Linked DNA regions of Homo sapiens: regions 2, 3, 4, 5 and 6 are each linked to region 1. Evidence: promoter capture Hi-C in human tissues and cell types (Jung and others, 2019). All regions are on one chromosome and are shown on one strand. The core of a region is centred on a gene start or on the middle of the fragment in contact, and the rest is flanking DNA. Distances in the headings are between cores, read along the strand shown.

Region 1 (3,958 bases), core at 880-3,379:
GGCCGGCGGGGAGGGGGCGCGGAGTGGAGATTGGCTCTCTGAGGTGGTCAGGGGCCCTGTGACAGCTTGGGACTTTCAGCACCTGGTTTGGGGTCATTTATCTGCTCAACTGTCAGGACCCCCCACCCCCAAACCCCAGCCACCAACACAACCATCGTAGAAGGGAACACAACACAGAGGGTCTTTTTTCATTTTTTTAAAAAATCGGTTTGGTTGTGTTTTTGTTTTCCATGGGGGAGCTTTAAAACTCATTATTGCAACACTAGTTCCATTTTTCGCCAGGGTTCCAATAACACGGCATCATAAAGGCAACGCAACCCACAGTTCTCAAGACATTTACCACGGTCACTACATCCGGCAGCGGGGTGGCCCCTAGCTCCTGCTGCCCCCCCGCCCTTTCTCCCCGCCCGCCCCCGGAGCTCAGCCGATTTCTGAGGCTCCAACTCTACCCACTCCCTCCCCGGGCCGCCGCCGCCGCGCCTTCCCCCATTCTTACTCCCTCGAGGAGAGCCACAGGTTGCAAATCCAACCAACCTCGCAATCTATTTTTGCAAAATCACTCACAAAGATCTCCCTTTCGCGCCCGCGCCCGCTCCTCCCGCGCCGGGTCCCCTCAGCCACGGCCACAAAGTGCCCTTCTCTCCTCCTGAGTCTTGCACATAAGGAACGCGGGCTGGGGCTCTGTTCGTCTTTCTCCTCGCCCAAGGTAAGGACCTCGGGAATCTGAAGCCTGGCGTCCACTACGCTCAGGCCCGCAGTTCCCTTTTTACAGAGCTTGCACCATGGGAAAAAATAAAATAAAATTTAGGAAAGGGAGGCAACAGCCATTGGGAGCCAACACAGAGTCACGCAGCGCCCAAAATACAAACACCGCAGCGGCCAGAAATCCCGCCACCTTTCTCGTTCTCCCAGGCTGTCCTGTCGAGGTTCCCTGAGTCCCCCCGCACACTGAAAGGCATCGCAGGTGCAGTGCGCACCCCTTTCCCACCCACCCCAAGAAGCCCTGTCCCGCCATCAGTCTCTCTCCTCGGGATGAGCAGGGAGAGCGCGCGGAGGTTCCCGACTCCCTCGACTACAACCAAGAAAGAATAATTTTCAAAGTGTTCAACATCCCCGCCCCCAAGCTCCCCAAAACACAGGGGCAGGGAACACCAAAACACTCGGCTCTCATTAGGAAGATCACGGCTCTGAAAGGAAATAGTAGACACGATACTTCATCTCATCTGGATTTATGACCAAAAAAACAAAAACAAAAACCCAAAGAGTTCGCTTGCATTTTTTCCTTCCAAATCTCGGTTCGGCTCGAAGGCAGGGAATCTAAAAGACCGAGGCCGATGGAAGAGAGCCAGCGGGGCGAGCGAGCGGGCAGCCTCCCTTTTTGCCTCCCGGAGTTACCCAGAAGGACAGGGGAAGGGAAGGAAGAAGAGGCGAGGAAAAAGAGGAGGGAGGGAAGCGGAGGCCAGGAGCGACGGAGCAAGGAAAGCAGTTTGCAAGCGAGAAAAGAGGGAAAAAACACAGCCGCACGAATCCAGAGAGATCACAAGCCGTACGCAAGCAGCAGCAGAAAGAGCGAGAGCGCGAGCGCGCGTCCTCTCCGCGGTCTGGGGCCAGACAGCCCCCAGACTAGCCCGAATCACCCCCCAAGCACTGTCTCGTCCTCTCTGCTCCGGCCGCCCCCTAATTCCCCTCCTTCCTCTCCTCCACCTCCTTTCCAAAAACCAAAACAACACAAGGGAGGGTGGCAAAAGCCTCCCCAAACCGGCCGATTCACTCAAAGACAACAATAATAATAATAAATACATAACAATCTATATCCTATGGTGGGAGAGACGTGGGACTAATCTTCGGCATTTATTTTAACACCTGACAGCTAGAATAAATAAATATATACATTTATATCAATAGATACACATAGAAAACTTGGAGCCAAAGCATTTGGCAAGAGCGGAAAAAAAAAGAATTAAAAGGTAAAATAATGATCATGAGCAGCGGCGGCGGCAGCGGCACCAGCGGCAACAGCGGCGGCGGCGGCAGTAGCAGCAGCAGCGGCGGCAGCAACAGCAATAATCACCTGGTGTCCGGCCTTTCCTAGAAACTTCTTGCATCACCACTTCTAAGAACCCCAGTTCTAAGAATCAACAGAGCTCAATTCTCGGAATTTGAGCTTCGGACTTTACCACTGCTACGTGGCAGGGGAGGACTTGGTGTCAGCTCTCCGAGATTTTTACTGCCCCTGGCCAACCAAAAGCCCTCAAAGCCACAAGATTTTTTCACTGGCCGGCATATTTCGAGGTCCTCATAAGCAGAGCGTCTCGGATTTGGAGGTTCCGGTTCGAGGCTCGAGGGGCCTGAAGGTGGCTCTCCCTCCCCGGGCCCAAGACGATGGTATGGCCTGCTCCGCCACCATCACGTGGGCTCCTCCTCTGTGACGTCGGCGCCTTCGCTGTAGCAAAGCTCGGCCTCTGGAATTCTGAGAACTAATTTGCTATTCGGTGACATAAGAGGGGGAGTGCGCTTTGCTTTCCCGGGGTCTGGGGCTAATTCCTTCTTTCTTACCCATAAACTCAGCAGATCGAGCTAAATGCACAAAAGGGAGCGAGAGGTTTGAACCACTGGGAAAAGTATGTTATATATATAGTAGGGTTAGAGAGGCGAGTAAGAGAAAAATAAAATAAAATAAACATCACAGCTCTTTCCAACTAGAATATTAGGCACCACGAGAAAAATATTTGCCAAGCAGTTTTCGGTGGGTTCATTTGCTTTATTTTTATTTAGGACAGGGGTTTTTGCTGTTGTTCTGGGTTTTTTTCTTTCTGGTGTGGTGGCTTGGGATTTTTGGTTTCTGTATTTTGATGGTTTATGGATTTTTGCTTCTGATTTTTTGCCTTTTGCAAGTTTGTGGTGTTACGTAAATCACAGGATCGGCATCGGTTGGATTTTTTTGTACGTGCCTTTTCTTTCCCTATCTAATCCCTCAAGCGTTTTAAAGATGTATTATTTCAATACTAATACTATTGAAAGAAGCTTAAATTTTTGGCCATATGTAACAATCCCAGCCCCCACTTTTTTTTTTTTTTTTTCCTTTGGTGCAATTTTCTTTTTCCCCCTTGGACTTTTGCTGAAGTGTGTCTCTCCTGCACTTCAGAGAAATGTTCAAAGGATTTGTTTTGGTTTGGTTTGTTTCTTTCCAGGACAGCAAGTGGTGGGTTTAATCTGTTATTGTTGACTCTTGGGAAATTTCTTGTTGCAAGAAACGTGTGTGTGGGGGGGAGGGTGGGGGTGGCGGGGTGGTATGTGTGTGTTTTCTACAAAATTCTGTGAGCCAAATACCTGTTTGTGTTTTGTTTTCTCTTAAGGTCTTGAGATTTTTGTTTTCGAGGCTCGTTTCAAGGTCGTTGTAAAAAAATCTCTTCAGTCTGTGTTTAAGAGATCAGCCGGAGGGAATTCTAAAGGCCTGCCGTGCCAGTATCACAGATACTGCCTGTATTTAGAACAGACTGCCACAACTACAATGCACTACACGCAGCACAGTCTTCTTAGCTTTGAAGCTGAGTTGGGGGGTGGGGTGGGGGGGGGGTAGAGAAGAAGGAGAAATTCTTTCCTTCTCTTTTTCTCTATTACTTTCTTTTTAAAGGCAATTGCAGTGCAGAATCATTTCATTGTGGGTCCTAGTTTGTTTGTTCAGAGCTGCTAGTTTCCTTATTTAAATGTTGGTTCGGGTTTTTTCCCCTCCTACTCATCCCTGAATAAGGGAGACTCTTGTTTCTTTTATGTCTCTCTCTTAAAAGAAGGGTGTGAGGGGAAAATAATATTTCAGATTCCTCAAGAATTAGCCCAAAATGTTTGGACCAGAAGCAGCTTTCAAAGGTCAGGCTGTTCTGAGCCTTGGCTATGAGAGTCCTTCAAGCGACTTATTAAATTACAGATGAATTCTTAAAGCTTCCACAAAATCTCGTCA
Region 2 (3,907 bases), core at 337-2,836, 870 kb after region 1:
TTTGAAGTCAGGTAGCATGATGCCTCCAGCTTTGTTCTTTTTGCTTGGGATTGCCTTGTCTGTACAGGCTCTTTTTCATTTCTATGGGTTTTTTTTCATTTCCGTATACGTTTTAGCATCAGTTTGTTGTTGTCCACAAAATAGGCTGCTATGATTTGGAGATTACCTTGAATCTTTAGATCAATTTGAAAAGAGCCGATACGTTAACAATACTGGGTTTTTCAATCCATGAAGATGGCCTATCTCTTAATTTATGTATGTCTTCTCTAATTTCTCTCATCTACATATCATAGTTTTGCATATATTTTGGTAAACTTGTCCTTAAGCACTTCAAATATTGGATGCTATTGTAAATGGTATTTTAAAATTTGTTTATAATCATTTGTTATTAGCATATAGAAATAGCAATAGATTTTTATATACTCCCTTTGTATCCTATAACTTGTTAAATGTAATAGTTGTACTAGCTTCTTTAATAAGACTTCTTAGGCAATTCTACCTGATCATTTTATCTGAAAATTGTTGATGCAATTGTTTATTTCCTTTATGGATAAGCCTATTCATCAACATTTTATGTTTGAAAGATTTGCTTGCTGATTGAAAAAGAAACAGCGTGATACAACTTTAAAGGAAATAAGTTGGAAAAAATAAGAACCTTTCCTCTCCACTTCCATAGGCTAGCCTACGTAAACCATCAGACATAGAAGCGATTTTCAGAATCATAAGTCTTAACCCCTTACATTTACAGATGAGAAAACTGAGGCCTGAAGAGTTACAGTGACTTTCAGAGTTATGTGGTTAGTAAATGACCTCATGTGAATGCAAAATGTAACTCTTCTATTCTGCAGTTCTTCTCTATATTGGTTAAGGATAGTTCAAGACAGAGGAGGTCAGAAGTAAGTGACCTTTAAAAGGTGTAATAATAACTATTGTCAGGATGATCTTATTTCCTATCTTTAGAACCCCATCATCAGTTTTGTAAGGCCACTGAATAATAGAAAATGGTTCCGATTCTGGTGCTCCCTATTCTGTCTCACAGCTGCTCCTGTGAAAACACTCGTTCATGGGCTCTGTGTAATTTTGACTCAGTCCATAATCTCTCTATCCTGATTTTAAAAGTTATCATCAGAATGGATGTGCTGGTATACTAAGAAATGTCTGTGAATATTATTTATTTATTTTACTTATCTAATCATTTTCATAGATTTGGTTGTTTAAAAATACCCCAGGTCTCAAATCCCTTTGGAAAGTTCAGCAAATCATTTTAACAGGTAATTCTGGCAATATGTAATTCTTTGTGTTTACAGAGTGAGAGAAATTCTATTTATCAGTGTTTTTTCTTTGTTTTGTTTTACTTCAGTTCTAAGCAAAGCAGTTATTTTGCTTATTGACATATTGATATATTCCTTTGGGAATCTCATTTCTTTCTTGGCCAGCTACAAACACTCATACTGTCCAATTTCAACAAGAGACTATGGTTATTCTCTTCTTCACCAAACAAAGAAATTTGAACCATTATTGATAAATAATTTCTGGTGAATATTAAAGCTTTGAAATGTTTTGCACACACAGTGTTAGGAAGTGTCTTAGAGTGAAAGACACTATTTTTACTACTATAGTATCAAAAGTGCCATTGTCCCACATACAAAGATTTACTTGTTACCTTAGTTCTTTGATTTTTCTGGAGTACAGCAACCCCAACTTTTAGAAGTACTCTTAACAAATGATACAGTGTTTGATCTGTTTCATCTTTGGACTTCAGAGAATGATCTTCAAATAATACAGTTTGGTTTATTTCAGAAGGTTGCTTCCTTAAAACAAAATTTTGAAAATATGAGATAATAACATTTAACTTCTTTTTCAATCACTTATAAAATTTACGAAACACTCTCATATAAGAAAAACTCTGTAAGTTGTTCAGAGGCAACTTCTTTAGTATCCTACCAATACTGAATACCTAAGGGAGGGTAAGAACTGACGTCGCCTCACTGCCAGCCCAGTGTTCTTTCCACTCTGTGAAACTTGCCTCCATTTGTAGCTGTCTGTGTTTGTATATATTAGCTCTATTTTGTGTAGAGTTGTCCAAACATAAAATATTCCTTTGGCGCAGAGTTTAGAGACTAAAACTTCTGAGTAGTATTTCCGGGACATAACATATATTTAACATTATTTGAAACCCAAGATTCAGTCAACATTGCTATTAAGAGTTAAGGAGCTGAAACTGTGCATACCCTAAGTCTGAATTCAAGGTAAGAGGTCCCTTGTTATTCAGTCTTTATAAGTGTTTGGTATATTTATGCCTCCTCAAATATGACACCATCTTTTTTTAAATTCACATTTAAAGATGATTGTAAAACAAGAAGGATAAGGTGTAAGTGTGGTAGTTGTTTTATTTATGGATTTATCAGTTAGCTGTTACTTATTTTTTGTGGTTCATAATGCAATTTTAACATAAGTCTGAATAAGTTTACTATAGATGATATTAGTAGGTTTTACCAGAGGAAACCATGCTTTTTTATTTTATTTTTTTCTTTTTCTTTGAGACAGAGTGTCACTCTTGTCGCCCAGGCTGGAGTGCAGTGGTGCAATCTGGGCTCACTGCAACCTCTGCCTCCCGGGTTCAAGTGATTCTCCTGCCTCAGCCTCCCAAGTAGCTGGGATTACAGGCATCTGCCACCAGGCCCAGCTAATTTTTGTATTTTTGGTAGAGACGGGGTTTTACCATGTTGGCTAGGTTGGTCTCAAACTCCTGACCTCAGGTGATCCACTCACCTTGGCCTCCCAAAGTGTTGGGATTACAGGTGTGAGCCACCACGCCTGGACAGAAACCATGCTTTATAATCCTGCTACCCACCCCATCCAAAGCACACAAAATATTAGTTAAGTAAGCTACTAGAAGACAACTGAGGCTGGTGGTCTCTGCAGGGGCAGAAAAATGGGAACTGGAGAGGAGTTCAGGAAGGCAGCCCAGAGAATATGAAGCAGGACCCAGCACACAACAGCCTGTGGGCCACATGTCACTTGCCACCTGATTTTGTAAATAATGTTTGCTTGAAATACAGCCATACTCGCTTCATTCCATATTATCAATGGCTGCTCTCACACTATAACAGCAGAGCTGAGAAGATGCAACAGAGACCGTATGGCCTACAGATATTAAAACATTTTCTGTATATCATTTTACAGAAAAACATTGTTGACTGCTGGTCAAAAATATGGGAAGAACGTCATGAAATTTAGATTCTTATTAAAAGTTCTTGAACATCCCTGAACTATTTAATATTATTTCTTGTCCAGCAGATCCTGAATCTTAAATTAGAAGTTGTGACAGTAAGTGGAAATTTTCAGGGAAGGAAGAACAGAATATCAAAATCAAAAATTAACATGCTATGTGCAGAGTAGGTTCTATATCCCTCCTTTTTTTCCCACCCTGGTAAACTCTTATTTAAACTTCAAGATCTGTCTCTAATATTAACTTCTTGGAGAAGTTTGACCATTCTTCCAGTTCCCACATATTATTAGCTTATCTTTCCTCTGATTTTTTCTCATAGCATTTTTTCATTCATTTACTAAAATATGCACTAAAATATGCACCTCATTCAGTATTTTTATATAATAACATTTTAAGATAATTTGCATACAGTATAATTCGCCCATTTAAATTAAATGGCGATTAAATTAATTTAATTTAACACAATTAAATTATTTTTAGTATATTCACAGTATATTTTACTGTATTCTTAAATATAGTATATGTGCAATCATTATCACAATCAATTTCTTTACACCAGGAAGAAATCCTCTACCAATGAGCAGTGACTTTTCTTTTTCCCCAAACCCTCTAAGTCTAGGTAACCATGAATTTAATATCTGTATCTACAGATTTAACAATTTTGGACATTTGGAA
Region 3 (4,137 bases), core at 1,614-4,113, 890 kb after region 1:
CAGTTGTATTTGGTAGTTCTTCTGTAGCGCCCCTTTTGTCTTCCTCCATTTCTCTCTTGCTAGCCCTCAACTCTACCCCACGTTCGTTTTCATTATCTTTTTTCTCATCCCCCATTTCCTGCTTATTTGTTTATTCTGGTGGCTCTTCTCTCTCTCATAGACGACATAGAAGCATGGCCTTCTTTCTGAACTTTCCTTGACCCAGAGGGAGAAAAGTCTAACATACTATCTTATTTATGCAATCTGAGGAAAGTTGTTGGCCAGCCATCACCCAGTGTGACCTAGTGACAGAACCAGTAGGGATATCTGAGTGTTCAGTCTTTGAATGATTCTTCCAAGTCATATAGATGTGTTGATTACTTCAATCTTGAACAAGATATGTTGTCACTATCATACTGGGCTATGAGTACTTGAGAACAGGGAACTGTGTAGTAAAATTCACCACATATGCTGGTAGCACACAGGCATCAACCAGTCTAAACAGAACCCACCCGGGTCACCTCCCACGTCACTGCTAAGACACAGTTCTTTACACAGACCATGTAAATGCTGTTGTGTTGTTTTGTCAAAGCTTCTATCACTCTTCTTGCTGTAATTTGAGAAGCAAAAGCATTAATAACCAGTTACTTACATAACTGGTATTGTAAGGCTTACTGGTGGCAGACAGCATTCCTGTGAGCAGTATTAGCACACCTCTCGATGAGAATGGCTGTGAACTACATTCTTTGGAGTAACAATAAGAAAGACTATACAAAACCTGGTCCTCTGTCTACAGTGAATGAACACGCTCATCTTTTCTTCCCACAGTGATTTTTTTCCAGATAACATATTCTAATGGCATGAGTATATTAAAATAAAGTCAGATAGGGTGAGGAGGGGCATGCTAACAAAAATAATCTGTCACTCTTGCCAAATGGAGGTAATACAGTCACAATATTTACAAGTAAAATGGCAGGGATGTAATTGAAAGTACATCTATATATCATCTATATATCATTCATATCATTCTTCAAGCTGTTATCACAGTTCCATCTTTGACTGATGCCTCTTCAATATGTTGTATAATGTACTATAGAGTTATTCCTTTTTACTCTTTTGCTCATGGAAATAATTTGAAGGCTTTTAACCTTCTGATCTCATTTTTCACTTTGTTCCAGACATGGCTTACTCTCTCTGCCATGGAACTATCAGATAAAATGCATAATTTGATTAGACCAAAACTGTACTACCATCAGTCTGTCGGTCAACACAAGATATATTTTAAGGGGATCTACACAAAAGTCTGCATGAAAATATTCCATATAAAGAATAGTTACATAAACCTTAATAAAAAGAAAATACTGGGAAGCACTTAGTGTCTCAGATTCTGGAATCAAAGCTCTCTTTCTTTTCGTTTCTTTTCTCAGCGATTCAAATGACCACTCTGATATTTTCTTTGCCAAATTAACTTTAGCATTGGAGGGGCGTTTATATAGTATCTGGCTTAAAGCTATTATTTTTCTCATTTGCTCTGCAGACATTTATTGATCACTTACTGTGTGCCAGGCCCTGTGATAGGAATGGAGGTAGAGAAGACACAATCCCTTGCCCTCAAAGGTTTCAGTGACAGAAGAAATAGATGAAGAGAATGAGGCCTGAAGTCATTTGCTCATGGTCCTACAGGCACAGAGCAGGGGTGCCCAACCCCCGGGCCATGGACCTCTACCAGTCCGTGACCTGTTGGAACCAGGCTGCACAGCAGGTGGTCAGTGGCGGGCAAGTGGGCGAAGCTTCATCTGTATTTACAGCCACTCCCCATTACTCACATTACTGCCTGAACTTCACCTCCTGTCAGATTGCAGCGGTATTGGATTCTCATAGGAGCGTGAACCCTATTGTGAACTGCACATGCGAGGGATATATTTTGCGTGCTCCTTATGAGAATCTAATGCCTGATGATCTGTCACTGTCTCCCATCATCCCCAGATGGGACCATCTAGTTTTGGGAAAACAAGCTCAGGGCTCCCACTGATTCCACTGATGGTGAGTTGTATAATTACTTCATTATATATTACAATGTAATAGTAATAGAAATAGCATGAACAATAAATGTAAAGTACTTGAATCAACCTGAAACTATCCCCATGCCCCAATCCATGGAAAAATTGGAGACCACAGAACTGGTCCCTGATGCCAAAAAGGTTGGGGACCACTGGCATCGAGGATAGAATAGGGACCAGAAAGAGATTGTGCAGCCGTCCTTCTAGATCTGGTTCTTGTCAACCACTCCATCTCCCTAATGTGGGACATGGCAGAAGAGTTACAACTAGAGTAAAATAATTCTTGTTGTGAGTTGCAAACTTTATGGGCTCCATGTTTAAATTATATTATTAAAATATGTATTTTGTGTTTGATATTAATCTCATAGACATTTAGGAGAACGATTAGATTTCTGATGCCTCTAGGCATTCAGAAGTCTCTAACTCACATGCTGCATTGTCTGAAAGGTTCTATTTTGTGATAGTGCTTCTTGGGCATCAGTGGGGACAGCTTAGAAAGCTTGTCGTTGCATCTAAATAAATACTGAGAGTTTGGATATGTTTCTAAGTTCCTTTCCTTTGAACTGTGGGGCATAAATCTCACGAGACAGCTTGTTCTCAAGAGGTTACCAGTACGTTTGGTTCTAGTCTGTCCACAAATATTGTGAGAACAGGCTTATTCAGATTATTTTGACATGCTCAGACAAGGCGTTCCGAACCATGTGAGAAATGAACGTGTGTGTGCAAGGGAAATACACACAATGCTACTGAGCCTCTAAGAGGCTCCATTTCTCGTGTTTTGAGGAGTGGAAATTGTCTCAAAAAATCAGCATCTCAGCTCTCATTCCTAATGTATCAGAATCTAGAAGTTCTGGTTTTGGAATCTGATATAGTGAGAAATCAGAAGATGTCCTGGGGTGTGGGAGAATGATATGTTCTTTAGTCGAGTTTAAATGAGTTTATTCCTTAACTTAGCACTTCCCCAGTGGCACAATAAGCACTCAGTAAATGTTTATTGAAGTGAATTCCAATTCCTGATTTGAATTTAGTGTTGGAGAAATTCCAGTCACCGGGCTGATAAAAAGTGGTGTCAGATTACTGGAAAAAGGACTATGTGGAGAAGCTGCTTGCAAGTAATAAACTCTTTGTGTTAGAGTCACCTGTTTTACCCAATGCCTAGCCTAGATCGTTGAAAAGGAAATTGAAGGATGGTATTCAGATTAAGAAACAGATCCCTGGATTATGTTTAAGAATTTCTGGGAGGAGCCAAGATGGCCGAATAGGAACAGCTCCGGTCTACAGCTCCCAGCCTGAGCGACGCAGAAGGCGGGTGATTTCTGCATTTCCATCTGAGGTACCGGGTTCATCTCACTAGGCAGTGCCAGACAGTGGGCGCAGGTCAGTGGGTGCGCGCACCGTGTGCGAGCCGAAGCAGGGCGAGGCATTGCCTCACTCGGGAAGCGCAAGGGGTCAGGGAGTTCCCTTTCCTAACCAAAGAAAGGGGTGACAGACGGCACCTGGAAAATCGGGTCACTCCCACCCGAATACTGCGCTTTTCCGACGGGCTTAAAAAACGGTGCACCACGAGATTATATCCCGCACCTTGCTCGGAGGGTCCTACCCCATGGAGTCTCGCTGATTCCTAGCACAGCAGTCTGAGATCAAACTGCAAGGCTGCAGCAAGACTGGGGGAGGGGCGCCCACCATTGCCCAGACTTGCTTAGGTAAACAAAGCAGCCAGGAAGCTCGAACTGGGGGGAGCCCACCACAGCTCAAGGAAGCCTGCCTGCCTCTGTAGGCTCCAGCTCTGGGGGCCCAGGGCACAGACAAACAAAAAGACAGCAGTAACCTCTGCAGACTTAAATGTCCCTGTCTGACAGCTTTGAAGAGAGCAGTGGTTCTCCCAGCACGCAGCTGGAGATCTGAGAATGGGCAGACTGCCTCCTCAAGTGGGTCCCTGACCCCTGACCCCCGAGCAGCCTAACTGGGAGGCACCCCCCTGCAGGGGCACGCTGACACCTCACACGGCAGGGTATTCCAACAGACCTGCAGCTGAGGGTCCTGTCTGTTAGAAGGAAAACTAACAAACAGAAAGGACATCCACACCAAAAACCCATCT
Region 4 (4,245 bases), core at 1,125-3,624, 510 kb after region 1:
AACATTTCCTGATCAGGAAAACCTCCCAAATTACGTATAGCAACATCAATGATAAATGATTTTTAACACAGAGAAATTTCATGTGTATTCTTATATCACAAAAATTCAGACGATGATAATGAGAGATTTCAGTCTCAGCTTTGGCTTACTATTGATTTTAACATTCAGTCATTTGGCACTTGGCCCAAGTGGGTAATGGGTGCATATCTATCAGTGGCTCTTCATACATTTGTGCAGGGAGGTACACATGCATACGTGTGGGTGTTTCAAAGTCTAACTGGAATAGGCCTCTCACATTTATCTCCTATTAATTTGCAGATTGTTTCCATGGTCACCATCCAGAAATTTCCCAGTAATCCTTGAGGAAGTTAGGGAGTGTGATACCATTAGGGAGAGGGAATATGTGGCATAGAGACGTGATGGGCATTAGTTGTCTGAGGTTATGAGGTCGTGGTGAAGCCTGATCATGTGACCCCATCTCCATACTCTATGTCCAGTGCTCCAGATCCCATAGACCTGAATCTTAGTTCTGGTGCTAGAACTGTCCCTGATGCACATATAGTAAGACTTTAATTTCCATTTTCCCTGTCTTATGAAAAGAAGTGTTGATAAGCTCATTAATTAGCTTTCTGCTCATAGCTTTTTTCTGACTGCTAATGACTTCTTGAGGATGGGCAGGCTTTGATGAGCTGTGTGGTCCTGGGAAAGCCTTGGTGTCCTCTTTTACCTGCACAGTGAGGGTGACGGTCGTGTTACCTCCTGAGGCCACCTTTCAGCTTTGCCATTCTGTCATTTGACAAAGACTGAATAGAGAAAAGACAAGATTTAACGACAGTTAAAGTCCAAGCCAGTTTGTATTTGCTGAAAGACACAACTGAGGGAAAGGAACTGACATGTAGTTTAAACAGACTGGTTTTTTGTTGACATGGGAAGTGTGAATAATACTTCTTCCTGGTTTATGAGATATGAAATTGGTTGTCTACCTTATCTGTTTCTCACTTTTGTTCTCAGTTCATAGTTTGGTCATGGAATGCAATTTTGAAGACAACTTCAAGTTGTTTTTTTGCTCAGTAATCATAGTAGTATTTACTGTTGTTCACTGGGCACCCAGTCTGTGTACACACATCATTCCTAATCTTAGAAGAAAAACAACGTGCAAGACATGTGTTTTCTTTCCCACTTTGCAAATAAGGAACTGGGGCTCAAAGAGATTAAAAGACTTACTTAAGTTCAATTAGAAAGTGGCAGAGCCAGGATTCAAATGTTGGTTTGCCTAACTGCAAAGCCTATATCCACCTTCCACCCAGTGCTGCTACAGCATTAAAGCCTGTAAATTGAATTCCACACACTCCTACTTTCACCTGTACTATTACAGTGATAAGTAAAACCAGCGCTGAGCCCTACTAACAAGGTGTCCTTGATTTGTGTGCTGATGCTCATGACACTTCTGTGTGGCATCTGCTGACAGGCCCACGGGGCCCAGATGTTCCCACTACAAAGAGCTCATCCTGGACTCCCCAACCAGGGAAAGAGACCTGAAAAGGAACTGGTTTGTGATTAGGGATTATTGTGATACTTGAAGTGAATGGTCAGTCAGTTCTTCCCATTTATTTGAGTTCTTACTTCCCTTCCCTTTGAACATTTCAGTCAAACTTCTAACAGTGACTTTCAACACTGGCTGCGCATTAAAATCACTTGGGGAGGTTTTGTTTTGTTTTGTTTTGAGACAGCGTCTCCCTCTGTCATCCAGGCTGGAATGCAGTGGCATGATTATGGTTCACTGTAGCTGCAACCTTCTAGGCTCAATCAACCCTCCTACTTCAGCCTTGTGAGTAGCTGGGAATACAGGGACACGCCACTACGCCTGGCTAATTCGTATATTTTGTAGAGACAGGGTTTCACTATGTTGCCTAGGCTGGTCTCGAACTCCTGGGCACAAGTGATTCTCCCACCTTGGCCTCCCAAAGTGCTGGAATCATGGAGCTTTTTGTTTGTAAGCATGTCAGCCCTCACCTTCCAGAGATCTTGATTTGAATGGGCTAGGTTGGGGTTCTCGCTATTAGCGCAAAAAAAAGTAAGTACTGAAGGGATTCTAAGATTCGTCTAGAGAAGACGATCACCGCATTAGGGGGCAGAAAGTCCACTTTTCATTATTTTGTTGGTACAGTATACTTTTTTTCTGACTCTATGAACCCTCAATCTTATGATGTTACCATTCCATTGAAGGGTGGGATTTATTCACTGAGAACATTTATATTTTTTTGAGATGTCTTAGGCTGTGGAGAGGGTGTTACAGGGATGGACACAGATGCTGAATTTAGTGGCCCCAGAGAAGAGGAATTAACCACTTTGGATTGGATTATTGGGAGCAACCAAAAGTCAGTGCTGTGGCTTTTGCTGTCTTCCCTTGTAATCTCTTCCCCTCACCAGATTTTCAACACAGAAGGGGTGTATTTTCTAGTTATGGGGTATTCACAATCACATCTAATAATTTTACTCCAGAACATACTATGGCTTGTTTATACTAGCTTGAATATTTGTAGTCTCTTTGATTTTTGTTTGCTAATTTAATTTACTATTGCATATAAAAGAATGGCTTCCATGGAGATAATCACCGTGGCTCCCAGAGTGCATCCAGAGACATTTGCCTTGCTTCTGTGGAAATACACCCAAATTCCCCAGCATGACATTGAGTGTTCACCCCACACCTGACACCAGTCTCTCTTGCTCTAATTAAGGCCACTCTTTACCATTCTTGGGCACCAGCCAGATGAACTATACCCTGGTGTGGGATCTGCCCGATCCTGCTGAGACATTAACTCTGTCCTGAAGCTGTTTGTCCTTCCAGCAGCTAGAAATAATCTTTCCTTTCCTAGAACTTCCACACTGCATTGAGCAGGAACACTTGTAGAACTTCTCACATTGTACCTCAAGGTATTCTTATTTATGCATGTATATAATTTCTCCCCTTCTACTACTGTAAGCTTCTGCAGGGTGGGGCAGCCTCTTCTTAATTTTGATATCTACTGCTGTGCCAAGAATATTGTAGGCATTTCCTAAATTATTTTTCCCCCAGTGTATGTGTTACTTTGTTCAATTCAGCAGTTGTCCAAAGCTAATCTCTTGAGCTATTGGTAGCTTTGGTGAACATTTGGAGAGGACTACTGTGATGGCGTAAAATCCGGTGACCTAGTTACAGAATATCCCCTGCAGGCTCACTGGTAAGGAAGGCTCATGTTTAAACTCAGTGAAAGGAGAGCCTGGCTTATTTATGGTGGTGGTTGTTTACATGTCTTTAAATGACCTTCTTTTTTTTTTAATATAAAGGCAATATATTCTCATAGAAAATTCAGAAACTGTAAACAGGGTTAAAGAAGAAAATAAAAATCAACACTATCACTTTCACCTATTTATTATTCTTATTTTATTTATTTATTTATTTATTTTTAAGGCAGAGTCTCTTTCTGTCACCCAGGCAGTGGCACGATCTCGGCTGACTGCAACCCCTGCCTCCCAGGTTCAAGCGATTCTCCTGCCTTAGCCTCCCAAGTAGCTAGGATTACAGGCATGCACCACCACCAAGTCCGGCTAATTTTTGTATTTTTGGTAGAGACAGGGTTTCACCATGTTGGCCAGACTGGTCTTGAACTCTTGACCTCAAGTGATCCGCCTGCCTTGGCCTCACAAAGTGCTGGGATTAGAGGCGTGAGCCACTGTGCCTGGCCACTTCCACCTATTATTAATGAAACCTGTCCTATTTAACAAAAACGATAATGTGGGGTGTCTTGTGCTTGGAGCTTGGAGAAAGGAATTTGCCTCTGTTTTTTTAATGACTTATGGCAAGGCCAGTATGACCAGTAAGTGGGCTGTTTATTATTATTATTATTATTAATCACCATTGTCACTGATAGAAATTGTCACTATTGTCACTGATAGAAACCAAGATAGAAATTGTCACTATTGCTATAGCCCCAAGAAGGACCTCATGGCTGCATAACGATTGAGCACCTTATATTTACACAATGCTTGGTTGTTGTTTTTTAAGGCAACTGTGACTCAACAACAGCTGTTTGAGAACAGCTCCATCCCAGATGAAATCAGAGGAACCGAAGTTTAAAAAGAAAGTGTTTCTGGGCTGGGCGCGGTGGTTCACGCCTGTAATCCCAGCACTTTGGGAGGCTGAGGCGGGCAGATGGTTTGAGGTCAGGAGTTTGAGAGCAGCCTGACCAACTTGGTGAAACCCTG
Region 5 (4,303 bases), core at 1,450-3,949, 600 kb after region 1:
TTCTCTTATATATGATTTTATTTCCTAGCTAGTCCCTTCTCTCTCCTGGTGCCATGTTTCCAAAATCATAGGACAGTCCTATGACTCTACTGCACAGCCACTGTGGAAAATTAGTTATTTTTCTGCTTAGCTTTTGCTTCTTTTACATACCAGACATGCAGTTAATGACTTTTATTATATATACTGTAAGAATGGGCATTTATACACCGGTAGCGGTAGTCCCTTACCCCAGCAACTTGCAATTCCTTGTTAGGAAAGAAAAGCTGTTTTCCTCCACATTTCTTTACTCTGTGACATTGTTCCCTGATCTGGGTCTTATGAGAGGATCTGGTAAACTTCCCCCCTATTAAGACCGTTAGGAAGAGGTGGATGCTTCTTCCATTATTTGATTTTTCCAGAGCAAATCACTGGATCTGTAAAGGAGATCAGAATGTCAAAGCCAGAGGGGACTTCACGAAGTAATCTAAACAAATTATTTCATGTCACAGATGGAGATTTTAGTGTCTGGGAGGGAATCTGATTTGTCTAAAGTGTTTTTGACTGATCTTGGACTAGAATTCTTCTGACTACATAGTTGTATCTTTAAGTAGAGAAATCTTTTTCTATAAACTATCCTTTCACTTCCTAGTTCTTAAAAGGCCATTATCTTCCAGGCAAAACCAATTTCATTTTCAGCATGGGGATGTGAGATGTCCTTAAACATAAATGGACTCCAGGTATCTTCATTAATTTCATGAAGACATGGCACAGAGGGTTCCGGCTACCTTCTGCTTTCCGTGTTTATTAAAAGACTGTGGATTCCCTTGCAGTTCTTCCTGTAAGAGGTTGTTTGACGCTGACATCATCACTCTCCTCCACCCGCCTCCTGCCCTTTTCTGAATCAGTGAATTATAGGAATCTGAGAATGAGCTCCTGTTTCCTGCACATTGTTGGGGAACATTAAAAAAAAGAAGACAGATGAGGGATTTATAAGCAAGAGGACAGAAGAATAATAGCCAACACAATGAAGTCTAGTTCAAGGCCTGCGATTCCCAATTGCTGGGCTACACAGCATTAATAGCAGTGTCTCTCACCCTTTCAGACCCTTCTCTCTTATTTCAGACCCTTCTGCCTTATTCTTGTGGGGATGGGCTGGGACTGAGAAACAGCTAGTATAATCATTGCCAAAATGAAACTCACATGTACATGGGGGCTTCCAGGTCTGGAGAAGAGTGTAGTAATTGTTACCCATCCGATAGAAGGTGCTTAGAGACCACTGGACCTAAGCACTTACCTGGAACCTCACAGTACAGAGGTTCAAAGAGTAGAAATCAGTTGACTGAGTCTGAGGTTCAAATCCTGGCTCTAATTAATTTGCTATGAGTTTAGTGAATGCCTAACTTTCCTCTGAGCTGCACTTTCTCCATCTGTGAGATGGGAGGAGGAGGGTGGCATAGATGATGTCAAAGGAACCCTCTGATTTTCATGAGTCTCAGATTTGCCCAAGGACCTGCAGCGAATGTGCAGCCAAGCCAGATCTTGAATTCAGAGCCCCTTTTTCTGGTTTGAGATGGTCATCATTATAAGTTCCACTACCCATACTTTCCAAACAGTATGTTTGCAGCTTTCAGCCTTGTTTTATTAAATCTACTTTTTCTCTTTTATTTGACAGTCCCTTTCTGTCCAGGGACCTGCCTAAAGTAGCAAATCTTTTTTTTTTTTTTTTTTTTTTTTTTGAGACGGAGTCTCGCTCTGTCACCCAGGCTGGAGTGCAGTGGCACGATCTTGGTTTACTGCAGCCTCCGCCTCCCAGGTTCAAGCAATTCTCCTGTCTCAGCCTCCCAAGTAGCTGGGACTACAGGTGCACACCCCCACGCCCAGCTAATTTTTTTTTTTTTTTTTAAGTAGAGATGGGGTTTCACCATGTTGGTCAGGCTGCTCTCAAACTCCTGACCTCAGGAGTCCACCCGCCTCGGCCTACCAAAGTGCTGGGATTACAGGTGTGAGCCACCGTGCCTGGCCTAAAGTAGTAGTTCTTAATATACGTGTGTGTATGTGCGTGCACACGTGCATACACATGATCCTGTGTTTGGGGCAGATGTGAGGATTATGGAATTTTCAGAAACTCAGATGAATTTATGAAATAGTTGGAAAATGCAGAACTCCAGAAAATGCTATCAACAAGTTTAGGAGGTTTGTAGATGCTCTGAAGGCCATCCATGAGTTAAGCAAAAGTTTTCATTCTATGTGGGAAGTATGAGATGACATTTGAGTGGCATACATTTCCTTTTGCTGTTGGATTTTCCCCGTAGTCACCTATTGTTATACTCTGAGTGTTAGGCTCGTTTTGTAGCATGACTTTTGGCATGTATGTATCTCAAACTATTGAGTGATATTTTAATATTGAAACTCTTATTCTACTTCATTCATTCACTCATGCATTCAAATTCAATTTTAATTCAGAATTTGCTAAATGCTAGACATCTCAATACATTATTGTATATAATCCTATAAAATAGAAAATTGCTAGGTGCTCAGAGAGGTTGAGTAATTTGCCCAAAGTTTTACAGCTAATAAATATAAAATCTGGATTTAAATCCGGATTTACTCCAAAATATGTGAATACCTCCAGAGATAACATTGAAGACAAATAGAGACAATGATGCAAGTTCATAAACCATGGAAATTTCTGGTAGAAAATGGTAGATGGGCCCCAGAGGAATACAGAGAATGTGTACTATGGGATTTTAGGAAGGGACAAGATCATACATTATGAATTACTTCATATCATAATTCGTTAACTACGTGTTTATCTGGCTCCTTAAGAAAGAATAAAAAAAGCTAGATAATCATATGAAACACATTATGCATAACTCAGTTTTTTTCTTGTTCTTCAAACTTCTGTCAGGTTAGTGCTCTCAATATCTTCATTTGGTAAGTGAGATGAGGAGATGAAGAGTAGTTAGGGTCATAGTGCCCTGATCATACTGAGTTTTCACCTAAATAGGAATTTCAGTGCTTTGGGTCATCTATTTTGTTCCCCTCCTCCCGGCCTACCCCCCCATTATATTGAGCTTGAGACTTTTAACAGAGATAACTTCTGACCACGCACAGATCAGCACAAATGCAGATGTGAGCAGCTAGAATTTGGATGCTGCCAAATTGTGATGACTGCCACATGTGTGAAGCTAAAGCTTAGCACCTGATGACCCACTGTGAGTGTGTGGGGGGGCCAGAAGAGTGAAAGGCAGGTCAGAGATGGAAGACGCCTCGGAGTTTCTCAATGGCAGTACCTTCACCTTGCAGATGCAGAAATGGAGGTGGTTAGAAGGGGTAAGACTTACTAAAATTCACACAGCAGGTTAATGGCTCTCTGAGAATAATGGCAAAACAAGAACAAGGCTTTATACCAGCAATCTACAGTAGTATCTACTTTTATTTCCTACCTTTCCGTTGGCATATACTCACACTGATAGGCTTGACAGGCAGATAAACCTGTATTTGAAGGTCAGCAGGATTAGTTGTGTGGCCTTGGATAAGTTACTTGATTTACTTGGGTCTCAGGTTTGTTGTCTGTAATAGAAACCATACCCTTTTTCTTTTCTTTCTTTCTTTTTTTTTTGAGATGGAGTTTTGCTCTTATTGCTCAGGCTGGAGTGCACCGGCATGACCTTGGCTCACTGCAACCTCTGCCTCCTGGGTTCAAGCGATTCTCCTGCTTCAGCCTCTGTAGTAGCTGGGATTACAGGCATGAGCCACCACGCCCAGCTAATTTTTTGTATTTTTAGTAGAGACAAGGTTTCACCATGTTGGCCAGGCTGGTCTCAAACTCCTGACCTCAGGTGATCCACCTGCCTCAGCCTCCCAAATTGCTGGGATTACAGGCATGAGCCACCGTGCGTGGCTGAAACCATACCCTTTTAACAGGACTATACCAGTGTACTGTTCAATATACAGAAATACTATCACCCATCTGATTAATAATCCTTATCACAGCCCAATGAGACAGGCACAGATGTTCTGCTTTTCAAGATTCTATTTCCTAACTTCATCTTGACAGTTGTAAGTCTCTTGCTTCTCAAAGTTTGGTCTGAGGACCGGAAGCATCAGCATTACATGGGAGCTTGTTAGAAATGCAAATCTCAGATCATACTCTAGAACTTCTGAATGAGAATCTCTACTTTAACAAGAGCCCCAGGTAGTTCATATGCTCATTAGTGTTTGAGAAACATTCACTTCGGCCCTCGCCCTATTTCAAGGCTATTGCTGTGGTGTGCTGACAATGCCTGGCATGCTGCCAGCATTCTTGGGGCATGCTGTACCA
Region 6 (4,528 bases), core at 167-2,666, 810 kb after region 1:
GTGGAATCAACCTCAAAGGAGATGGTGTCAGAGTGGTGTTCAATGCCTGAGCTTCTACCGAGTGAGTCACTTGTGTGAAAATGTCTTGACACAGATAGAATTGAGGTGCCCACACTATATCTGATCACAGAAATGTTAATGCAGAATAGCAAACTGGCTTTCATCTTCATGGGATTGCAGGCTGGGGGATAAAAGGGGGTGCATTTTTAAAGGTCATCTCTATTGCTTATGAGAAAACAATGTATCACATCCCATGCATCTGTGAGACTGTATATCAAGAATCAGAAATAAATACATTTGAAGGAAAACTGCAAGTTGTTTCTCACGTGTGAATTTGATGCTTTTTTTTAAAAAAAAGAAAGATTTTCTGGAAGAATTTAGCCTCCTGAAAACTTGTTTCTTCTGTGTTGTAGTTGATAATATCTACCACCCACTGTGGTGCATGGAGAGGAAAAACCTTCTATCCCCTACTTTATGTGTTATTGATGTGACATAATTTTTCAGAATAGCCACACAATTTCAAATGTGACTTCTTTTCTAACTTGCAAATAGAGCTGACAACAGCAAGATATGTCCTGTAAACAAACCCCAAAAGAATATTTTTGAACAAGTTGTAGTTCAATTTATACCAGATTATGGAACACTAGAGATTTACAGTGATGCGTTCTTTTATTTAGATGGAATAGGAGAACCCATAGAGTTGAAGCTGTTTGTCTGAAGGTTTGCAGCAGATCAGTGGCTCTGCCAAGCCTGCAACTATCATCACCTGACTCCAAGTTACTCTCTTTCTAGTCCAGCACAGCTGCCTCCCAAGTTTAATAGTCTATGACTCACAATCCAAATCTATGGTGACATATAATATTTTACTTTGATTCCAAATCAACAAGCCAGTTTTAGAAGTGCTTACACTGCTGCATTACTTTTTATACTATTGGGTTCTTCAAGTTGAGTCTTATTTCTAGAACTCCAATAAGAATAACCAGAGGAGTCATTTATTTTGTTATTATGACATATTTATTGAAGACTTATTGGGTGGCAAGCTGTCTTATAGAGGGTGAGGGTACAGCTATGCATAAAACAATGTGTATTTTCTTAAAAGAGTTTATATTACTGTGGGAGAGGCATAGTAAACATGTTAGGTTCTATAGAGAAAAATAAAGCAAGATAAAAGTGAAAGAGTGCTTTGGGTTGAGTGGAGCCATAGTTGCTATTCTGCACAAAGTGGTTAAGAAAAGCCTTAAGAGGAAGAGATATTTGAGGAGAGATCTCAAGGAGGTGAGGAAGTGAGCTCTGCAGATATTTGGGATAAGCATGTTATAGACAGAGGGAAGCACAAGCGTGAAAAGTCTGAGAAGATCATGGCTGGCATCTGGCATTTTTAAGAAAGAGTGAAGTAGCCAAGGGTGCCTGAAGCCAAGTGATCCCAAGGAAGTGAGGAAAAATAAGGTTAGGGAGGTAGCAGGGGCCCTCATGATCACATAGAACCTCATAGGACCTCTTATTCTTAGTTTAAGTGAGATGGAGAGCATTTGGAGTCACATTATCAGGCTTATGTTAAGGATCACTCAGGCAGCTTTCTGTAGGCTATGTGGTAATCCAAACCAGAAGTGACAACACAAACTAGAAATTACAATCAAACTCAAAATGATAGTTGGTTGGACTTGGTAGGTATAGTTGGTGTTGGGGAGGGGATAAGAAGTAGTGGGATTCTGGATATATTTCCATTGCAGCCTCAACAACTATTGTGAGCAGATCAGATGTGGAATATAAGAGTAATAGAAGAGTCAAGAATGGCTCCTAGGTTTTTACCCTGAGCAAGGAGAAGAATGGAATTGCTATTTAGTGAGATTTCTGGAGACAGGAAGATTAATTTTGCTTCTGTTTTTGTTGTTTAGAAGAGAAAGGAGAAAGGATGATCAGCCATTTGGCTTTGAATATGTTATATTTGAGCTATCTTTTAGAGATTCGAGTATTGGTTGAGTAGACAGCTGTATATTTGAGTCTGGGGTACAAGGGCAGGCTCTTGACTTGATATAGGTGTAGGTGTCAGCAGATATACATTTAGAGCTTTGAGCCTGGATCATATCACCTAAGGTAATGGAGGAAGCCATGAATATTTTGATGTCATGGAGAAAATAGAGGAACTATTAAAGAATGCTTGGGACAAGAAACACTGAGGTAGGAGGAAATGCAAAGGACAGTGGTGTCCAGAAATGAAGTGAAAAATGTGCTTCAAGAGTGAGTGTGTGATCAAGGTATCCACACCATTGGATCAAATGCCATGAGGATTAAAAGTTGGACCAATGGATCTAGATCTTAGTTGAGGATTGCCTTGATAAGAACAGTTATCGTTACTCTTCTGAGCTATTTGCTCACACTTGCCTTACTTTTTGTCAAAGTCGAGGCCCCTCTAAATATTGGTTAAATACAAGGGCTCTGGAGTTGCCCTGTCTGAGGTCAAATCCTAGTTTCATATTTACTAGTTGTTTGAGCTTGGAAAGTTTAATTAACCCTTCTGTGTGCTTCAGTTTTTTTTGTTTGTTTGTTTTACTTTTGAAAGGAAAGAAATGATATGTTTTGTCTCATAGGTTTATTGGGAAGATTGCAAAAATTAAACATATACCATAGTGTCTGTCATATAGTAAATTACCAATAATTGTTAGCTCTAGTGATTAAGAATAAAATGATCACTAACATCTATAAAATTACACCTGACTTATATTTCCTTCTTACCCTGAAAATCATACAAACTCTTTCTAGAGTTGTGCTTGAGTCGGTTGCACTATTTTCTGCCTTTTTGTTTTTTTGGTTTGATTTTTTTTCAGTTTTTTTAATCATTACATGAATTAACCTCATTATGATCTAATTACTTCCACATAGTTCTCCAGATTGTGAATGCTCTGCGAAACCATAGCTTGTTCATATCTTAGAACCTTATGCAAGGGTTGGCACTTTTGGCACTTCAGGCTTGAAATCCAGGTTTCTGAATGCCCTGGTGATTGATTGACATTTCACCTTCAAGGTCATTCCAATACTTAATGTAGAAGTGATAGGGTAAACTCTTAATTACTGGAATTACCTATAAATAAATAAATGACTTAAATTTCCTAAAATAATAGTTAATGTCTTGTTAATCTGAGTTCCTTTTCTCTGTAAATTATTTCACAGGCATGACCCTCTGTAATTTTCTCACCTTTTAAAGTGATCCTGAGGTATATCATGCAGGATAGTTGACCTTTGGGATTGGTGTTCTTGCCCTACGGTAGATAGCTTTGTGAAGTCTTCCCTCCCTTTCTATTTCTGGGACCTAGAACTTAAAATGGCCTCTTATGTTGAATTCTTCTCATTCATATTTCTATAAACTCAAATAATGGTGCCTTTAACATCTTCAGACGTGCCTTCATGCGTTACAAAAAAAAAGATGGTTTGATATTTGTTTCCTTTATCTTCTTTGAAATGCACGAATAAAGGTAACTATTTACAAACCTGAAATAAAGCAAAACTGTGTTTATTAGATTCTTGAAAAGCGGTTTTGCAAATCTAAATCAAGCACCGGGCTAGGAGGACTACATTAAGCAACAACACCAGCAATGAGTGGTATATTTTAGGAACTGTGTCCATGGACAGAATGAGATATCATGAGCAAATATCTGTTGCAATTCCTGTGCCAATTCATAAATGGCAACAGCTGATTCTTGCCTTGCTCACATAGTTGTAGTCTGGATGGTAAAAGGTAATATTTTCAACTCCTTGGTTTACTTTGTCAGGAGTAATAAGTTTCTAATAAAGAAGCTATATTTATACTTCTCACCTAGCCTCTCTCTCTCTGTGTAGTCCATGCCACAAACACTGTACATTGGCTAACATATTTGTCTGAGTAAGGGTGAGAGACAAGAAGAACATGAGGGAAACTAGAGGTTGTACAAGTAAATTCTATTGTTGCTAATGCCATAATTTATTCCAGATATTATCTAGTCCCAGAATGTGCATATGAATGTTCTGGCGCTCTCTTTTCTGTACTTGTAATAAACAAGACATCAGAAGACACAAGAGTTGAGAGGGCCCAGTTTCAGTACCTCTTGTTATAAATCATCAAGCAGGTAAAGAGAAGATCCCTGATGTTATCAGTACTTTTGAGCAGAAAGCATGGATGTTATCAGTATTTTTGACCAGAAAGAGAATGGATGTTATCAGTATTTTTGAGCAGAAAGCATGCGTGTTTGTACACCTTCTTGTTTACTCCACATAGGCACTCCGACAAAATAGTATCTCTACCTCAACCAGTAAGTTCCTTATCTGTCTCTGAGTTCTTTTGTCCTTCTACAGAAACAAGAGTGTTTCTCTTAAACTAACTCCCTCATTCTGGATAAACTGATATAATAAAAACACCAGAACGAAAACGCATGTATTCATACCATACTTTCCCACCTCACTGTGCTGTACTCTGTAGAGTTCATATCCTCTCTTCTTTTACACCTCTTCAGTGAGCTCTATAATTTTCTAGCTCTTGGTTGTTTCTCTGTTCGTA

Evidence for each region. Contacts are between HindIII fragments. The study calls those that stand out against the background at their distance.
Region 2: a contact is called between a fragment that was not itself captured here and the fragment with the promoter of BCL6 in region 1, in 1 of the 25 tissues and cell types used here (lymphoblastoid cells).
Region 3: a contact is called between a fragment that was not itself captured here and the fragment with the promoter of BCL6 in region 1, in 4 of the 25 tissues and cell types used here (aorta, bladder, heart right ventricle and 1 more).
Region 4: a fragment that was not itself captured here is called in contact with the fragment with the promoter of BCL6 in region 1 in 4 of the 25 tissues and cell types used here (IMR-90 fibroblasts, dorsolateral prefrontal cortex, psoas muscle and 1 more).
Region 5: a contact is called between a fragment that was not itself captured here and the fragment with the promoter of BCL6 in region 1, in 5 of the 25 tissues and cell types used here (IMR-90 fibroblasts, aorta, bladder and 2 more).
Region 6: a contact is called between a fragment that was not itself captured here and the fragment with the promoter of BCL6 in region 1, in 2 of the 25 tissues and cell types used here (IMR-90 fibroblasts and dorsolateral prefrontal cortex).

The regions. Positions count from the first base shown.
Region 1 is chr3:187,743,339-187,747,296 of GRCh38, forward strand. It overlaps BCL6 (BCL6 transcription repressor), which reads right to left and starts at 2,130. Exons shown (of 10, transcript NM_001706.5): 1 at 2,072-2,130. It overlaps BCL6-AS1 (BCL6 antisense RNA 1), which reads left to right and starts at 331. Exons shown (of 2, transcript NR_173091.1): 1 at 331-706; 2 at 1,906-2,688. RefSeq lists an enhancer at 1,243-1,768. The HindIII fragment of the contact is 4,851 bases long and covers 1-3,481 here.
Region 2 is chr3:188,616,502-188,620,408 of GRCh38, forward strand. All of the region lies in intron 7 of LPP (LIM domain containing preferred translocation partner in lipoma), which reads left to right. It overlaps LOC124906316 (a long non-coding RNA gene), which reads right to left. Exons shown (of 5, transcript XR_007096213.1): 3 at 1,664-1,811. Among named protein-coding and RNA genes, the nearest start is that of LPP-AS1, 50 kb to the left of the region's middle. The HindIII fragment of the contact is 7,946 bases long and covers 1-3,907 here.
Region 3 is chr3:188,632,769-188,636,905 of GRCh38, forward strand. All of the region lies in intron 7 of LPP (LIM domain containing preferred translocation partner in lipoma), which reads left to right. All of the region lies in intron 2 of LOC124906316 (a long non-coding RNA gene), which reads right to left. Among named protein-coding and RNA genes, the nearest start is that of MIR28, 54 kb to the right of the region's middle. RefSeq lists enhancers at 3,064-3,616, 3,617-4,137. The HindIII fragment of the contact is 6,552 bases long and covers 1-4,137 here.
Region 4 is chr3:188,256,618-188,260,862 of GRCh38, forward strand. All of the region lies in intron 2 of LPP (LIM domain containing preferred translocation partner in lipoma), which reads left to right. Among named protein-coding and RNA genes, the nearest start is that of FLJ42393, 80 kb to the left of the region's middle. The HindIII fragment of the contact is 5,784 bases long and covers 1-4,245 here.
Region 5 is chr3:188,344,563-188,348,865 of GRCh38, forward strand. The region is part of intron 3 of LPP (LIM domain containing preferred translocation partner in lipoma); the gene reads left to right. Among named protein-coding and RNA genes, the nearest start is that of FLJ42393, 170 kb to the left of the region's middle. The HindIII fragment of the contact is 3,208 bases long and covers 1,096-4,303 here.
Region 6 is chr3:188,553,805-188,558,332 of GRCh38, forward strand. The region is part of intron 6 of LPP (LIM domain containing preferred translocation partner in lipoma); the gene reads left to right. Among named protein-coding and RNA genes, the nearest start is that of LPP-AS1, 13 kb to the right of the region's middle. The HindIII fragment of the contact is 5,615 bases long and covers 1-4,224 here.